Linked DNA regions of Homo sapiens: all the other regions are linked to region 3. Evidence: promoter capture Hi-C in human tissues and cell types (Jung and others, 2019). All regions are on one chromosome and are shown on one strand. The core of a region is centred on a gene start or on the middle of the fragment in contact, and the rest is flanking DNA. Distances in the headings are between cores, read along the strand shown.

Evidence for each region. The method cuts DNA at HindIII sites, captures the fragments that hold promoters and counts their contacts. A contact is called where the count stands out against the background at its distance.
Region 1: a fragment that was not itself captured here is called in contact with the fragment with the promoter of ST20-MTHFS in region 3 in 1 of the 25 tissues and cell types used here (pancreas).
Region 2: a fragment that was not itself captured here is called in contact with the fragment with the promoter of ST20-MTHFS in region 3 in 5 of the 25 tissues and cell types used here (H1 embryonic stem cells, IMR-90 fibroblasts, aorta and 2 more).
Region 4: a contact is called between a fragment that was not itself captured here and the fragment with the promoter of ST20-MTHFS in region 3, in 1 of the 25 tissues and cell types used here (lymphoblastoid cells).

Annotation. Positions count from the first base shown.
Region 1 is chr15:79,600,020-79,603,721 of GRCh38, forward strand. No RefSeq gene overlaps it. Among named protein-coding and RNA genes, the nearest start is that of TRC-GCA5-1, 140 kb to the right of the region's middle. The HindIII fragment of the contact is 8,440 bases long and covers 1-3,702 here.
Region 2 is chr15:79,425,313-79,428,881 of GRCh38, forward strand. It overlaps a transcript of MINAR1 not described here. Among named protein-coding and RNA genes, the nearest start is that of MINAR1, 5.2 kb to the right of the region's middle. The HindIII fragment of the contact is 7,124 bases long and covers 1-3,569 here.
Region 3 is chr15:79,920,742-79,924,425 of GRCh38, forward strand. ST20-MTHFS (ST20-MTHFS readthrough) reads right to left here and starts at 2,351. Exons shown (of 4, transcript NM_001199760.2): 1 at 2,298-2,351. ST20 (suppressor of tumorigenicity 20) reads right to left here and starts at 3,011. Exons shown (of 3, transcript NR_037653.2): 1 at 2,711-3,011. ST20-AS1 (ST20 antisense RNA 1) reads left to right here and starts at 2,030. Exons shown (of 1, transcript NR_028330.1): 1 at 2,030-3,684. RefSeq lists silencers at 2,169-2,278, 2,299-2,368, 2,379-2,428, 3,049-3,198 and enhancers at 2,729-2,908, 3,339-3,388, 3,590-3,684. The HindIII fragment of the contact is 9,290 bases long and covers 1-3,684 here.
Region 4 is chr15:80,186,049-80,189,261 of GRCh38, forward strand. FAH (fumarylacetoacetate hydrolase) reads left to right here. Exons shown (of 14, transcript NM_000137.4): 14 at 82-301. The coding sequence ends at 161. Among named protein-coding and RNA genes, the nearest start is that of FAH, 35 kb to the left of the region's middle. RefSeq lists an enhancer at 119-619. The HindIII fragment of the contact is 5,416 bases long and covers 1-3,213 here.

The DNA.
Region 1 (3,702 bases), core at 438-2,937, 320 kb before region 3:
CTACACTTTCTTGTGCCTTAAAAAGGAAGGCCTCTGATCCAATGGGTTTAAGAAATACCATATTCTATCTCTGAAACTATTGCTCCATCTTGGAGAGCCTCAATGTACTGTAGCATATAAAAGACTCCAAGAAATCCTGCAAGCGAGACATCTGTTTAAGCTCATGCTGCCCAAATTTATTCTACCAGGGAATCCTTTTTCTAATGGCCCAACAGACACTGACATTGGGAGCCACGGTTTGGGAAATGAGAGTCGTAGATAGTGGGTGAAGCCACAACGGTAGGTACATAGATTGGCCCAGGTGTGTGCATTGACAAGAGGACAGTCAAGGAGAGAACCCTGGTGATACCCGCTCTTCATACCTCTTTAAGCCACCTGAACCTACACTTATACTATACTGCACATGGCCACCAAAGCAGAGTGTAGCCTTTATGCCTCATTTTTGGTCATGACTAAGGACCTGCCTCACCTTCTTGTTGACCTTGTTTAACAAGCAAGATGCATTAATTGAACAATTACTTAGTGAATGGCACTGTGGCTACAGAAAGACAAAGAAATCATTGGCTTTGGGACCTTGGAGTTGGATAATTCCACCTAGCTCCCATCCTTGTCTCTCCTCTTCTGCCCCACGCCTGCCCTTCAGACTGGCTTCTAAGGACTTATATGATGTAGGCTTGTTTCACTTGTCTTTTCCCTCTCCTGGCCATCTTGGTTAAGACCCCAACCCTGATTCAGAGCCCCAGAATCTAAATGTGTGAGTTGCTCTGTCTAGCTGTTGGAGGACTTTTAGAGAGATCGTAAAATGTATTTATGTTGTGAGTAGAAGAAAAGAAATGTGAAAACCTGCCCCCCCCCCAAAAAAAAAAAGTACTCTGAGAGATAGGAGGAAAACCAAGAGTCCATATAAGTCAAAATAGAAAAGCACTTCAAGGAGATTAATCAGTGAGATCCAGTGTCTCATGAGGTCCAGGAAGGCAGCCACAGGATCCGGCCATCCAGGACGTCATTGTCTTCTGGAAGATGTGATGAGCACAAAAGCTGCATTCAAGCGACTCAAGAAGCAAATAGGTGAACTAAAGGACCCATGTATAAACATCTCCTCCTAGAAGTACCATGCTGAAATAAAGGGTAAAAGAAGACCACGGATAAAGGGAAGGCGGCAAAAGAAAACTTTCCAGATGAGGGAAGTGGGAGCATATTGTGCTCAAGAGGAATAGTCAAGAGAAAGGTTAAGTTGAAAACACAGAAGGTGTGAGGGAGTGAGGTCTCTGAGAAGGCAGGAGGGATGGAATCCAGAGCCCAGGTGAGTCCCTGAGCAAGAGCAACGGCACCGAGGCTGGAAGGGAAGGAAAGGGGGATGGTGTATCCATTTCCTACAGCTGCTGTAATAAAGTGCCACAAATTAGGTAGCTTCAAACAGCAGAGATTTATTGTCTCACAGTTCTGGAGGCCAGAAATCAAGGTGTCAGCTGGGCCATGCCCTCCCCAGGCTGCAGAGGAGAATCTGTTCCATGCTCTTCTCTCAGCCTCTGGTGTCACTGCCAATCCTGGGTGGCTTGTCATTGCCTATTTCCAATCTCTACCTGCATTATCACATGGTCTCCTCTCCTCCTGTGTTCAGATCTCTCCTTTGCGTAAGGACAGCCGTCATATTGGATTAAGAGGCCACCCTACTCCTGCATGACTTCATTTTAATTTAGTTAATTACATCTGCAGTAATCCTACTTCCAAATGAGGTCACATTGGAAGGTATTGAGGGTTAGGATTTCAACATCTCTTTTTTTTTGTCGGGGGAGAGGGACACGATTCAATCCATTACAGATGGTATGTTTACTTTTCAGGGAAATCAGTGGCTGCAGTTGGGAGGGATGGTGATACACAGAGAAGTGATTTCATTCCAAGGGCAATGGCTATTTCTTTGTCACTGTCTTCCCAGCCCCTGGCCTGTGGGCGCGTGCTGGAGTACTATTCTGATAGTAACCTACATGCGGGTCATTTCCTATAATTCCCTTTTGCCCCATGACCCTCCCTGTAATTCCAGGCAGAGCTCATCAGTCTGCCCTTGCTGTATCCAGAAGCTGAGCAACAGAGAGAAAAAACGTCAATTCTCAGTTTTGACTTTCAAATTAGACTTTTGAAATTCCCAATGGAGGCAATATTGGTGAGAACGGGATTGTGAGTTCCACAGAATCACTAGAGTTTATGCCATAAACAAGAATGGGAAGGATAAATCATTTGTTAATCAAAGAACCCATATTCCAGCTGTAGACTTGATTAAGATTACACCACAGGCTGGAAAGGAGAAGATGGTTGGAGAGGAATTGAGAGAGACAGTGAGGAGGAGGAGCTGTGCACCTGCTCCCAAGGCCAGCTCAGTCTCCGGGCTCTGGAGCCGCCACCTCCCCCAGAGCATCTCCACTGTCATCAGATGTACAGATTGGGCAGCCATGTATGATCAGGACGGAAGCAACCTCCTACTGCTACAAATAATAACAATAATTATAATGAAGGTTGAAAACCACTGACCAAGGCTAGATGGGGTTTCTAAGGTCCATAGAGGGGTGGATATTTGTTGACAGAAGAGCCAGGACAAGCAGGTTTTCTGATTTCTGAGAATGGTGACTGCCTCCTTAACAGGGGCAGCAAGAATGGGGAATATTGGGTTAGAGCACATTCCAATGGCAAAAAATTAACTTGTTTCTTTTGTATCCAGATTTGAAAAAAAAGCTCTAAGGAAGCCAAAATCTTTAATGCAATCTTCCCTCTCTTTTGACTGGCCTACTGACCAAAGACAGGAAAGAATTCCACTGGGAAGACTAATGTTTATTTTTAGTAACAGATAATATGTGTTGAATGCCTAGTGTGTGACAGGTGCTGTGCTAAGCATTTCATATACATTAGCACTTTTAACACTCAAATACTCCAATAATGAAGGCATCATTCCCCTTTTAGAAATGAGCATGCAGAGTCAGAGTAGAAAACCAACTTGCTGAAGGTCACATAGCAGTGAACAGCTGTACAGCAGCATTTAAACCCAGGAATCTGTTGGAAACTCAAGTGGCACTTCTAATCACTATACCATACTGCCTCTCTATATAACACACATTTGTTTTTCCTTGAAAGTTTCCTTGTGATAACTAGAAAGAAACGTGGAGAAATGAATTGCCATTGAAGACCTACTATGTGCCAGGCATTGTGCATTTTGCATATATTATCTCCTTTGCAGTGCTCAGAAATTCCATCTGTCACTAACTTCAATCTTCCTGGAAGAGAGCTTAGGTTTCAGAAAAAGCACCAGATTGGTCTACGGCTCAGTGATTTCCCTCAATTTACACCTAATGAAACTCATATAACTAATTCTGCCACTCCAATGCTCAGAAAATTACACTGGTTCCCCCTTTCAAGTTATAAAATAAAGTCCAAGTTCCTAATCTGGCTTTCAAGGCTCCCGCGACCTGTGTAGTCTATTTCTCCAACATTATTTTAGTACATGTTCCTGACCCCTGATAACCTGAATTAAGATCTCTCTTCTGACCTGCACACATTTATCTGTGTTTCCCATGACATTATCATGTTCAAACTTGCCTATAGCTAGTTCTGTGTAGGAGTCACCTTTCCACCAGCTGTGGGACATCTTGAGGGCCAGTTCTGTGTTTCACCTCGCAGTGTCTAGCATGTGGCAAAAGCTCAGTGAATTTTAAA
Region 2 (3,569 bases), core at 884-3,383, 500 kb before region 3:
CCTGAGCCACCGTGCCAGGCCCATGGTTCTTCTTTAACAATGTATATAACTGTCATCCCATTTGAACACTGCAAGTTAATAGGTGACTGTAAGTTAAATGGTAATGCCCAAAATATATTGATTTCCCCACTTACCCCTGTACCAGGACAGCATGTCTCATTCCTCCCTCACCTCACATGATGAAATTAGAATCTCAAACCATGGACAAAGCTCCTTTCCCCTCTCCACTGTTTCCTCCTTTATCTCTCATTCATGGCAGCTCAACCAACAAGCCTCACTCGTTTGGAGGTAAAAATTGGCAGCCAGGATGACTGGGGACTCTTCCCCAGACATCCAGGAATCCTTGAGCATTGGAGTGGCAAAGGTCTCTAGGAAACATATGGTGTAGCCTCTTCATTCGACAGCTGAGGAAACAGAAGTCCAGAGACTGCAGTGCCTTGGCCAAGGTACCAGAGCCAGACACGAGAGAGCCGGGCCTGGAACCCAAGCCTCCTGCCTCCTTGGTCAGTACACCACACTTTAGCCCCTGTGTTGTACAATAGGCCCTGTATCCTGCAGAGGAGAGGGAAGCATCAGGAAGCTCTTGTGGCCTGGTGAGTTCTGTTTCATCATGGCTGGACACTCGGAGCTGGATCTCAACGCAGCTGTCCTGTCTGGGACTTCCAGGGCATGATCATTTCCAAGAGTCAAAAGCCAATCTCTCATGCACCAGTCAGGACTCTGGGTTGCCAACATCAGACACTGACTCTGGCGTGCTTGGAGAGTGAAGGAATCTACTGAACGGATATCAGGAGCTGACAGAATCAGTGGTGGGGCCAGAGAATCAGTATCGGAAAATATGCATGCAGGAACTGAAGGAAACTGGGGGAGTTGGGGGGCTGGAATCACTGCCAAGGTCGTGCCACAGGAAGAGGCTGTTTAGGCTCTGTTGCTCCCACTACTGGACTCAGACCATTGTACCCTGGATGCCACTACCACTAGGGGTGGGACGATTTTCAGACTGTCACCAGATTCTTTCACATCGTCCCTGGCTTCAGATTCACAGCCTCAGGCAAAAGCATTGGGTTGGCCAAGCTCGGGCCACTTGCCCGTGCCCATGCTGTCAAGGTTCAGGAGAAGAGAGGCTCTTGAAATTTCACTATGGCAGCTTCCATTGAAATAGGGAGAGAATTTGGAATCTGGGCAGCCAAATAACAAAAAACGAATATCCTCTGCATCTGCCAAACAGGCCACCACAGCAGCCTCTGCTTGGAAAGGCCATTTGCAAAGCAGGAGAGTAGAATTCAGTGGAGCATGGATTAACTCAAGCTGTAGTATGCTCAGCCTGGCTCCCTGGGACCAGCCTTCTGAAGGGGACCATGGGTACTGCTATACTCACCTTCGTCTAGAGAGGCCCCTAGTCTCCAGCCTGACTCAAGGAAGCTCCTAGACAGCATAGAGATGCTCTGAACTCCAGGCCGTATTTTAGGAAATTTAGGAAGTAACCCTTTGTGAGCACTGGGCTGCATTCAGAAGAACTCAGTTCTAGTTTCAGATTCATTTATAATTCACAGCATCACTTAGAAGTTTATAATTCCTACCATTTGTCCCAGCAATCCATTATTGGGTATAGACCCAAAGGCAAATAAATAGTTCTACCATAAAGACACATGCACACGTATGTTCATTGCAGCACTATTCACAATAGCAAAGACATGAAATCAACCTAAATGCCCATCAATAGTAGACTGGATAAAAAAATGTGGTACATATGCACCATGGAATACTATGCAGCCATGAAAAAACAAGATCATGTCCTTTGCAGGGACATGGATGGAGCTGAAGGCCATTATCCTTAGCAAACTAATGTGGGAACAGAAAACCAAATAATGCATGTTCTCACTTATAAATGGGAGCTAAATGATGAGAACTCATGGACACGAAGAAGGGAACAATGGAGGCTGGGGCCTACTGGAGGGTGGAGGATGGGAGGAGGTAGAGGATCAGGAAAAATAATGAGTACTAGGCCTAATACCTGGATGACAAAATAATCTGTACAACAAACCCTCATGACACGAGTTTACCTATATAACAAACCTGCATATGTACCCCTGAACCTAAAATAAAAGTTAAAAAATCAGAAGTTTACCATTCCTTCTGGATCTCATTTTTATGATTGGCAATCTGCTACTATCAATCTCTACCCATTTAACTCACAACAAAGTGTTAAGAGCTGGGGAGTGGCTCTATATTCCACTTCACTCCAAATTTGTGTCTCATAAACCTATTGTTGTAGCTAAAGTCCTGCCACTCGTGGAATTCCTCTGGGAACAGATATTATATCAAAAAGTGTTTCCCTAGGAAGTGAAGTAGAGGTTAGAAGCTACTGTTCTACTGCCTGAAAATTATATCTTAAATGATCTCTGAGATTTATTTGTGCATGACATATATCCTTTTAAGTGCTTATATAAGATACAGGACAACTGAGGCTTAATAGAATGAGATCTAAAAAACTCTGGGTTCAGGGTGAAGTCACTAAGTGCTGTCCTGGCAGGTGACAACCCTGGAGTACCCAGGAGAAATACAGATACAGGATTCTTGGGCAGCTCAGAGGAGAATCAGAGAGGGAGCTGCTAAGCACTAATCACGGGGTACCCATGCCAATGACATGATTGTAAAAATGTGTACTGCTTGCCGTTTTGTCGGCCAGCAAAGCAACATCTTCTCTCAGGATCCAAAAGGAGATTACAGCTCAGCCTTTCAGCCCAGAGGAGGAAACAGTTTTCCCGTGCCCAATTCCTTGTTCACTGGTACATTCAAGCTTATGCCTAGATGCCAAGATGAAAGTCCTTCCTTCCTTCCTTCCTTCTCTCCCTCCTTCCTTCCTCCCTCCCTCCCCTCCCTCTCTTCTTCCCTTCTTTCCTTCCTTTATTCCCCCTCCCTCCCTCCTCTCCCTCCCTCCTTCCCTCCTTCCTTTCTTCTCCCTCTCTCCCTCCCTCCCTCCTTCCTTCTTCTCTCCCTTCCTTCCTCCCTCCCTCCTCTACCTCCCCCATCCCTCCTTGCCTCCTTTTCTTCTTTCTTCCCCTTCCCTCCCTCCTCTCCCTCTCTCCCTCCCTCCCTCCTTCCTTCATTCTTTCCTTCCTTTCTTCCCCTTTCCTCCCTCCCTCCTTCCCTCCCTCTTTCCCTCCTTTCTTCCCCCTCCCTCCCTCCTTCCTCCTTCCCTCCTTCCCTCCCTTTTCTTCCTTCCTTTTGTTTTTTCTTTCAGCCTGCCATTTTCAGTCACAAACTTTTGCGGAATACCTGTTATGAGGCTTCCACTTTCCATTTATCTCATCTTCCCAAAAACTCTATGAAATCTCTTATTACACTTTTATAGATGATAAAACTGAAGCTCAAGAGAGGTTAAGAAACTATCTCAAGTTTACCTAGATAGTAGGTGAGCTGGAGACAAAATCTTTATATAATGATGCTATATCCAGTGCCCTTTTCTAATAGTTCAATACATCTAAAATGTACCACAGGAGATCTGATTATGATGGATTAAAAAGTATTAATGTGTCAGTGGTCACAGTCTTCTCCCCTACCTCTAT
Region 3 (3,684 bases), core at 1,101-3,600:
TTATTTCTAACACTTATGATTTATTCTTTAACAAGAAAGGAAATTTCGAAAAGGAAACTTTTTACTTTCTACAGGCTGATGAGTGCAGCTAATCCTCATTATTATAAGCATCACTATTATCATCACTTGCAAGAGCCATGTGACAATATTTAGATGATTCTGGGTTCTTTTAAAGTGCATACATACTCAGGATTCCTTTGGGAGGATGCAATTTCATTTATATGAAAAACTGTCACTACCACAGTCAGCTCTAATAATATTTGATATCACCTGGTAATAAAGGTTTGTCGGCTGGGTGCGGTGGCTCACGCAGCACTTTGGGAGGCCAAGGCGGGCAGATCACGAGGTCTGGAGTTCGAGACCAGCCTGGCCAGTATGGTGAAACTCCATCTCTACTAAAAACACAAAAATTAGCTGGGCATGGGGGTGGGCACCTGCAGTCCCAGCTACTTGGGAGGCTGGGGCAGAAGAATTGCTTGAACCTGGGAGGCGGAGGTTGCAGTGAGCTGAGATCATGCCACTGCACTCCAGCCAGGGCAACAGAGCGAGACTCCGTCTCAAAAAAAAAAAAAAATAGTAAATAAAAAATAAAGGTTTGTCACCATATACTCAAGAGTACTTCTGTTATTCAAATCTCCTAACTGGGAGTTACAAATATCTCTGACTCTGCTCTTGTAGCTGTCAGAGCATAAAATGCCCTTCCCACTCTTTCCTCACTTCCAGACTCCAAAGCCTCCTCCTCAAAGTTTGGCCCCTCTACTTTGGACTACTGTTTTCTTCCCAGTTACTGCGCACTGACAGTACTTTTGTTCTCTCTTTCGGCAATTCACCATACACTTTCTAGTTTATTTATCTGCATAAAACTTAGTTCTCAACAAGACTATAACTGCCTTATGAACAGGAATCAACAGTTGAGAATCTTCAGAGTCTCCTATAACATCATGTAAGAGCTCACTAAATGTTTGATTTAAATAACTAGGCTTAAGAGTAATAGGCTGGGCATGGTGGCTCATGCCTGTAATCCCAGCTCTTTGGAAGGCCGAGGCGGGAGGATCACGAGGTCAGATCGAGGCCATCCTGGCTAACACGGTGAAACCCGTCTCTTCTAAAAATACGAAAACAAAAAATTAGCAGGGAGTGGTGGCCAGTGCCTGTAGTCCCAACTACTCGGGAGGCTGAGGCAGGAGAACGGTGTGAACCCAGGAGGCGGAGCTTGCAGTAAGCCAAGATCTCAACAGTGCTAAATGCATACATGGATTATCTTACTAAATTTTCATAACTCTATAGAGGTAAGTGCTATCATTATTTTCTCCATCATAGAGGAAGAAAGTGAAGCTCAGAATAACTTGCTCAAGGTCATACAGGCCTGGGCAAACCCAGGGCCTGAATCCAGCAAAGCTCTTAACTACCTCAGAACACTGCACAGTTCGAGCCCTGCAATACTACAGTCTATGAATGATTTCGATTTCACTAAGTTAGAAATTTGAATTTCAACAGAGACATTTTAGCTAAAAGGTAAAATTTTAAAGAGGATGAATTAAGAGAATTTCCCACAGACATCTTTATAATAAAATGAGGAGAAAAGCCTCCCATTTCCTATTTATGAAAGTGATATTAAGGTGTGTGTCACAATTTCATCAAGAAGTGGCTTATGACAATACAGCTTTGGTTTAGGTATTAAAATAGGACTCTTTTCTGCCCATAGGAGGACATGGAAATGAAGGATAGATGTGATAAATGTCAATTCAGAGCTCTGCAAAATGCCAGACTCAATTCTTGTTTTAAAATATCAGAGCCAGGGCTCTTGTTTCACCCTTGATTCTTCACACAAAACACCACCATCCTCTGACCTCTTCACACAGAGCAAGCTTTACCCCACTACCTAAAGGGGAGTGCTGATCCACATGGTCTCCCCATCCACGCTAGAAATTGATCCCAAACACCAACCGCTGCATAGACGTCGGCGACTTTGGTCTGCACCCCCCGAACTTGGTGATACCTCATCAAGCCAAACCCCTCCCCAACATCCAAAATGCCCAGACCAGCATCCGAAAGCTGGTCTCCTATACAAAGCAGAATCCCTGCCTACAAAGCAGTTTCCCACCTCCGACTCCTCCCCACGGCGAACAGCCCTTCTGGATCCAACCAACCCACCAACCCCAATAGGGCCCAGCACCCAGAGGGTCCACAATCCAGAGAAGGAGCTACAAGCCCTGTACTTGCAAGCCTCGAACCCCCAACTCCAACTGACCTCCCCTCTGCCAGAGCAAGACCACGAGTACCCGCCGAGAGCGGACCTGGCTGGCTACACAAAGCCAGGCGCCCGACCAGAGGGATCCTCCGGGACGTCCTCCGCCACCGGGGCGTCCCCGCCCAGCCCCGCCCGGCGCCCGGCGCTCACCAGCTCTCCTCCCCCTCCTCCTAGCCTGACAGACGCTCCAGGTCGTCTAGCAAGCCGCCCTCCCCCGCCGCCAGCAAGAAGGTGGCGTCTCGCAGCTCCTCGTTATTCGTCCGCCTCGGGTCCATCCGGCCCCGCCGCCCGACTTTGCGCTGAGACCCAAGGGGAAGCCCCGAGGGGACCCCGCGCCGTAGGAGGGAGTGGAGGAGCCGGCGAACCGCGATGGAGCCGGGGCCCAGCACAGCGCGAGCGGCTCCTCGGCTGTTCGTGCTGCTTCCCCAGCTTCTTCACCGGCACCTGCAGCTTCCGCACCTCCTGGTCCGCGTTCACGTTAGAGTTAACGTCCTCCATCCCGGCCCCGCTGCCTCCGCCGCCCGCGGCCCTCTCGCTCTCGCAGCAACAAGGGAAGAGCCGGAGGAAAGAGGCGTCCACGCCGCTCACTCCAGCCGAGGCCCCCGCATATAGCAGGGCCAGGCCCCGTCGCCAGGGTTCCCCCAGCGCGGGTCCCGAAGCACCGCTGGCCACAGATGAACCGCCTCCTCAGCGCAGGTCCGGGATTCGGGGAGGCAGCGCCAATATCCGGTCTCTGCAGCCATCTTCCCTCCGTCCCTCCGCCCACCGAGGGTCGGCCCTGTAGGTGACCTCAGAGCGTCGGGGATGGGCGTGGCCCCGTCGGGCGCTAAGAAGACCTAGCGCAGAGAGGACCGCCGAGCTCCCGACGGGGCGGGGCCAGGTGTGTGAGGGGCGGGGATTGGACCCGGAGGGGCGTGTCTGGACTGCCGGCGGAAGTGGAACGCGGCCTGACCTGCGACGGAAAGCCACTGCAAGCCCGGAGGCGAACAGAAGGCATTCCGCGAGCCGGGCTGAGTTGGTGAACACGGTCCTCGTTCACCCCGCCTATTGGTCTGGGCGTGTGGGGTATTCTCCACCCACTTATACGGCGTGTGGGACCGACGGGCCCGTCCTGCCCGGCTCCGGTCCGGATCTCGAGTAGGCGCTCAATGGGATTCGGGGAGACGTAGTTTACTTTGTTCAGCAAATATTTAACCGATGCCTATTTTAATGGGAGATTGTTTCCGCTGGCGGGAGCCTCAGAGACCGCCTGTGTCCTTTAAGAAACCCGAATTTCAGACAGTTAAGAGAGGTCTAAGGTCAAAATAATAATCATAATTTCTTCTTACTGGCCAGATACTATGCTAAGCCCTTTTTAATTTTATTATTATTATATTTTGTCACCGAGGCTGGAGTGCAATGGCCCGATCTTGGCTCTGCAACCTCCGCCTCCC
Region 4 (3,213 bases), core at 94-2,593, 260 kb after region 3:
GACGGGCACTGCCGCTGCCTAGGTGTTGGTTCCGGTGAGCCCAGCAACTTTGTGACTGATCCTTGTCCTCCTCTGTTCCAGGGTACTGCCAGGGGGATGGTTACCGCATCGGCTTTGGCCAGTGTGCTGGAAAAGTGCTGCCTGCTCTCCTGCCATCATGAGATTTTCTCTGCTCTTCTGGAAACAAAGGGCTCAAGCACCCCTTTCAACCCTGTGACTGGGGTCCTCCCTCGGGCTGTAGGCCTGGTCCGCCATTCAGTGACAAATAAAGCCATTGTGCTCTGAGGCCTGCACTGCCGCAGATGCAGCTGTGTCCACTTATGATCGTGATTTGATCCAGTGGGTCAAGGTGTGTAAAGCCTCCCTGCCAGATATTCATTAATATGTTTTCTCACTCTTATTAGTGAGGTCAGGGGTCTTTGTGGGATTTTCTTATTAGACATCCCAGGCCTCCTGGTATTCCATGGAATTTGAAAAGAGACTGGCACCTGTAGTAGTCAGGGCTCTCCAGAGAAATAGAACCAAGGAGAAAGAGATCGATTTATTGATTGATTGATTGATTTTAAGCAAATTGGCTTCTGGGATTCTGGAGGGTGGCAAGCCCAAAACCTGCTGGGTGGGTTGCTGGCTGGAGACCCAAGGAAGAGCTGCAGTTTGAGTCTGAAGCAGTCTGCTGTCAAAATTTCCTCTTCCTCTGGGAAGTGAGTCATTGTTTGGTGAAGGCCATCAACTGATTAGATGAGGCCCAGCCACACTGTGGGGGTCTTCTGCTTTACTCCACTGATTTAAGTTTTATTTCACCTAAAAAGTACTTTCTTAGAAACATGTAGAATAGCATTTGAGCAAATATTTGGGTACCTTAGTCTAGCCAAATTAATACAGAAAACTGCCCATCACAGCACCCTGCATGTCCAGTGTTTCTTGGGGCTAACGGATGAGCACATATGGGTTGTAGGCTTGGTTCATGGGCCCCGTGGCTGCGTCTCCACACTGTAAGCCTTGGGAAGAGCCTCCGAGTCATGGGTGAGCACCTGAACTGTGATGATGGCAGAAAAGGACCTAGCTTTTCACCTCTTGCAAGCCCACCAGAGTCAGGAGAGTGAGCTCTGCCCCATCTCTTCTGTCCCAACCCATTGCACACAGGCAGCCCTGGTTCTACCCTAGTTCCTTGGTGATGACAGCAGGGGAGTATGCCCTGCGACCTTTCCTGGGCCTGATGAGCCTTATACCGGGGCCTAGGGGGATAGTTGAGGATGCAGAGCCCATCCGTCAGATCGCACCATTCATTCATTCACTCAACAAATCTTTATTGAGCACCTTCTGTGTGTTAAGCACTGTTCTAAGGATGAGAGGCACAGCAGTAAACAGAATAGCCCATTTGAAGCTTACATTCGAGTGGAAAGAGATAGACAATAAACAGATAAGGAAAAGACATGTGGTATGACAGATGGTAATAAGTTTTATGGACAATTGGGAGATGTGGATGCTATTGTTAATGTGGTTAGAGAAGGCCTTAATCCCATAGTACATTTCTGCTAGAGAGCTGAAGGAGTGAGGGGAGCAGGCCAGATGGATATCTGGGGACAGAGTCCTCCAGGCACAGGAATCAGCCCGTGCAAAGCCCTGAGGATGGAATATGCTTATCATTTCTAAAGAACATCAAGGAGGCTGGTATTTCTTCCTTACATAAAAGCAACCTGGGGTCAGGAAGGCTGGAGTTAGTGTGGCAGCTGCACAGTGTCATTAAAGATACCTCTGCTCTGCCATCGTCGGTATGTGGTTTTTAGTCTCAGGGTTACATTATGATACAAAATGGCTGCTGGAGCTCCAACTAGTACATCTAAGTTCCAGGCCAGCAGAAAGAGACAACAAAGAGGTGAGGACTGGGAGGATGGAAGGGCAGAAGAGCCCTCCTTCCTCCTGAGTTAGGTCATTTTAAGCAGCTTTCCTGGTAGTCCCATACCACACATGTCTTAGATTTCATTGATGAGACACACCTCATTACAAGAAAGCCTGGAAATGTAGTCTTTCATCTAAACACATTGCTTGCCCTGTGAAAATTAGTTTGATTGCCCTAAAAGAAGGGGAGAATGGATACTGGGGGACAATTAGTAGTCTCTGCTACACACAGGCTGGGAAATATCATGCTCTGAGGCTGAACTGCTCCCCGTGGACTTTACTTCCTAGAGCTATGCTCTAGGGCCATATTCTCCAGTGCTTTGCTGATTTCAGTGGAAATGCTGTATAGGGCAGATGTCAGCAGGATCTCCCAGATGCTACTTTCCAGATCAGTGATGCAAACACTTCTCTGAATTTGGAAGACCAAAGCCTTCCCCAGGATTTTTCTGAATTCCTGGGGCTTATGTTCCCAGGGCTACATCTGCTTCTGTTGACTCAGCTAAAACCCCTGCTCTCTAGGCTGTGTTCTGAGATTGTTCCTAAACCCTTCTCTCCTTGTTCCTAAAGCCTTCTCTCCCGGCATCAACCCACAGGAGTGACTCATCTTTTTCTCAAAGCCCTCACCTGCACATGGATAAAAGGCCCTCGTGCTCTGCACAGTAGGGCTTTACTGGAGATCTCTGGGTCACAGGCAAAGGTCACTTAAAATCATTGTTAATCCACTTGTTCCCACTGGCACCAGAGAATGCTGGTGTCATCAGTAGAGATCACACGCTTATCCCCTTGTTGGGCATTTAATGCACTTAAAGGGCTTGGTGATGTTGGGAAAACCCAATGGACCTGCCCCAGAGTCTGAAACACACACAGGGCAGAAAGAGCCAGAAACGTTCCTGGCATCAGATTCACTTAAGAAACCAAACTCATGGATGTTAATTCTGGGTCCAGCCTGGGCTTTACTTGGCAATTACTTTTCCTTAATCTTCAGCGACAAGAGCCTCTTTGTTTTACTGTCTCCGACTCCAGAAATGCTCACTGCCAGCCCCACATGACAAGTGACTTTAATGGTCTTTAGTTTTGGAGATCTACTTTATTGAAACCTATCTGTGTGTAATAATATGAAATAGACAAGAATGACTTTCAGGGTCAAATTTCCTCTTTTTGACAGTGATATTTTAAGGACTAGAAGCATTTTGACCAGATGAATGGAGCTTTCAGACGGGATGATGAGCATCTCAAGGCAGGTTGGCCATAGTTATCACTATATCTTCCTTATTAATTTGTATTCCATTTATGCTTCCTGTTTTTAACCAGTGG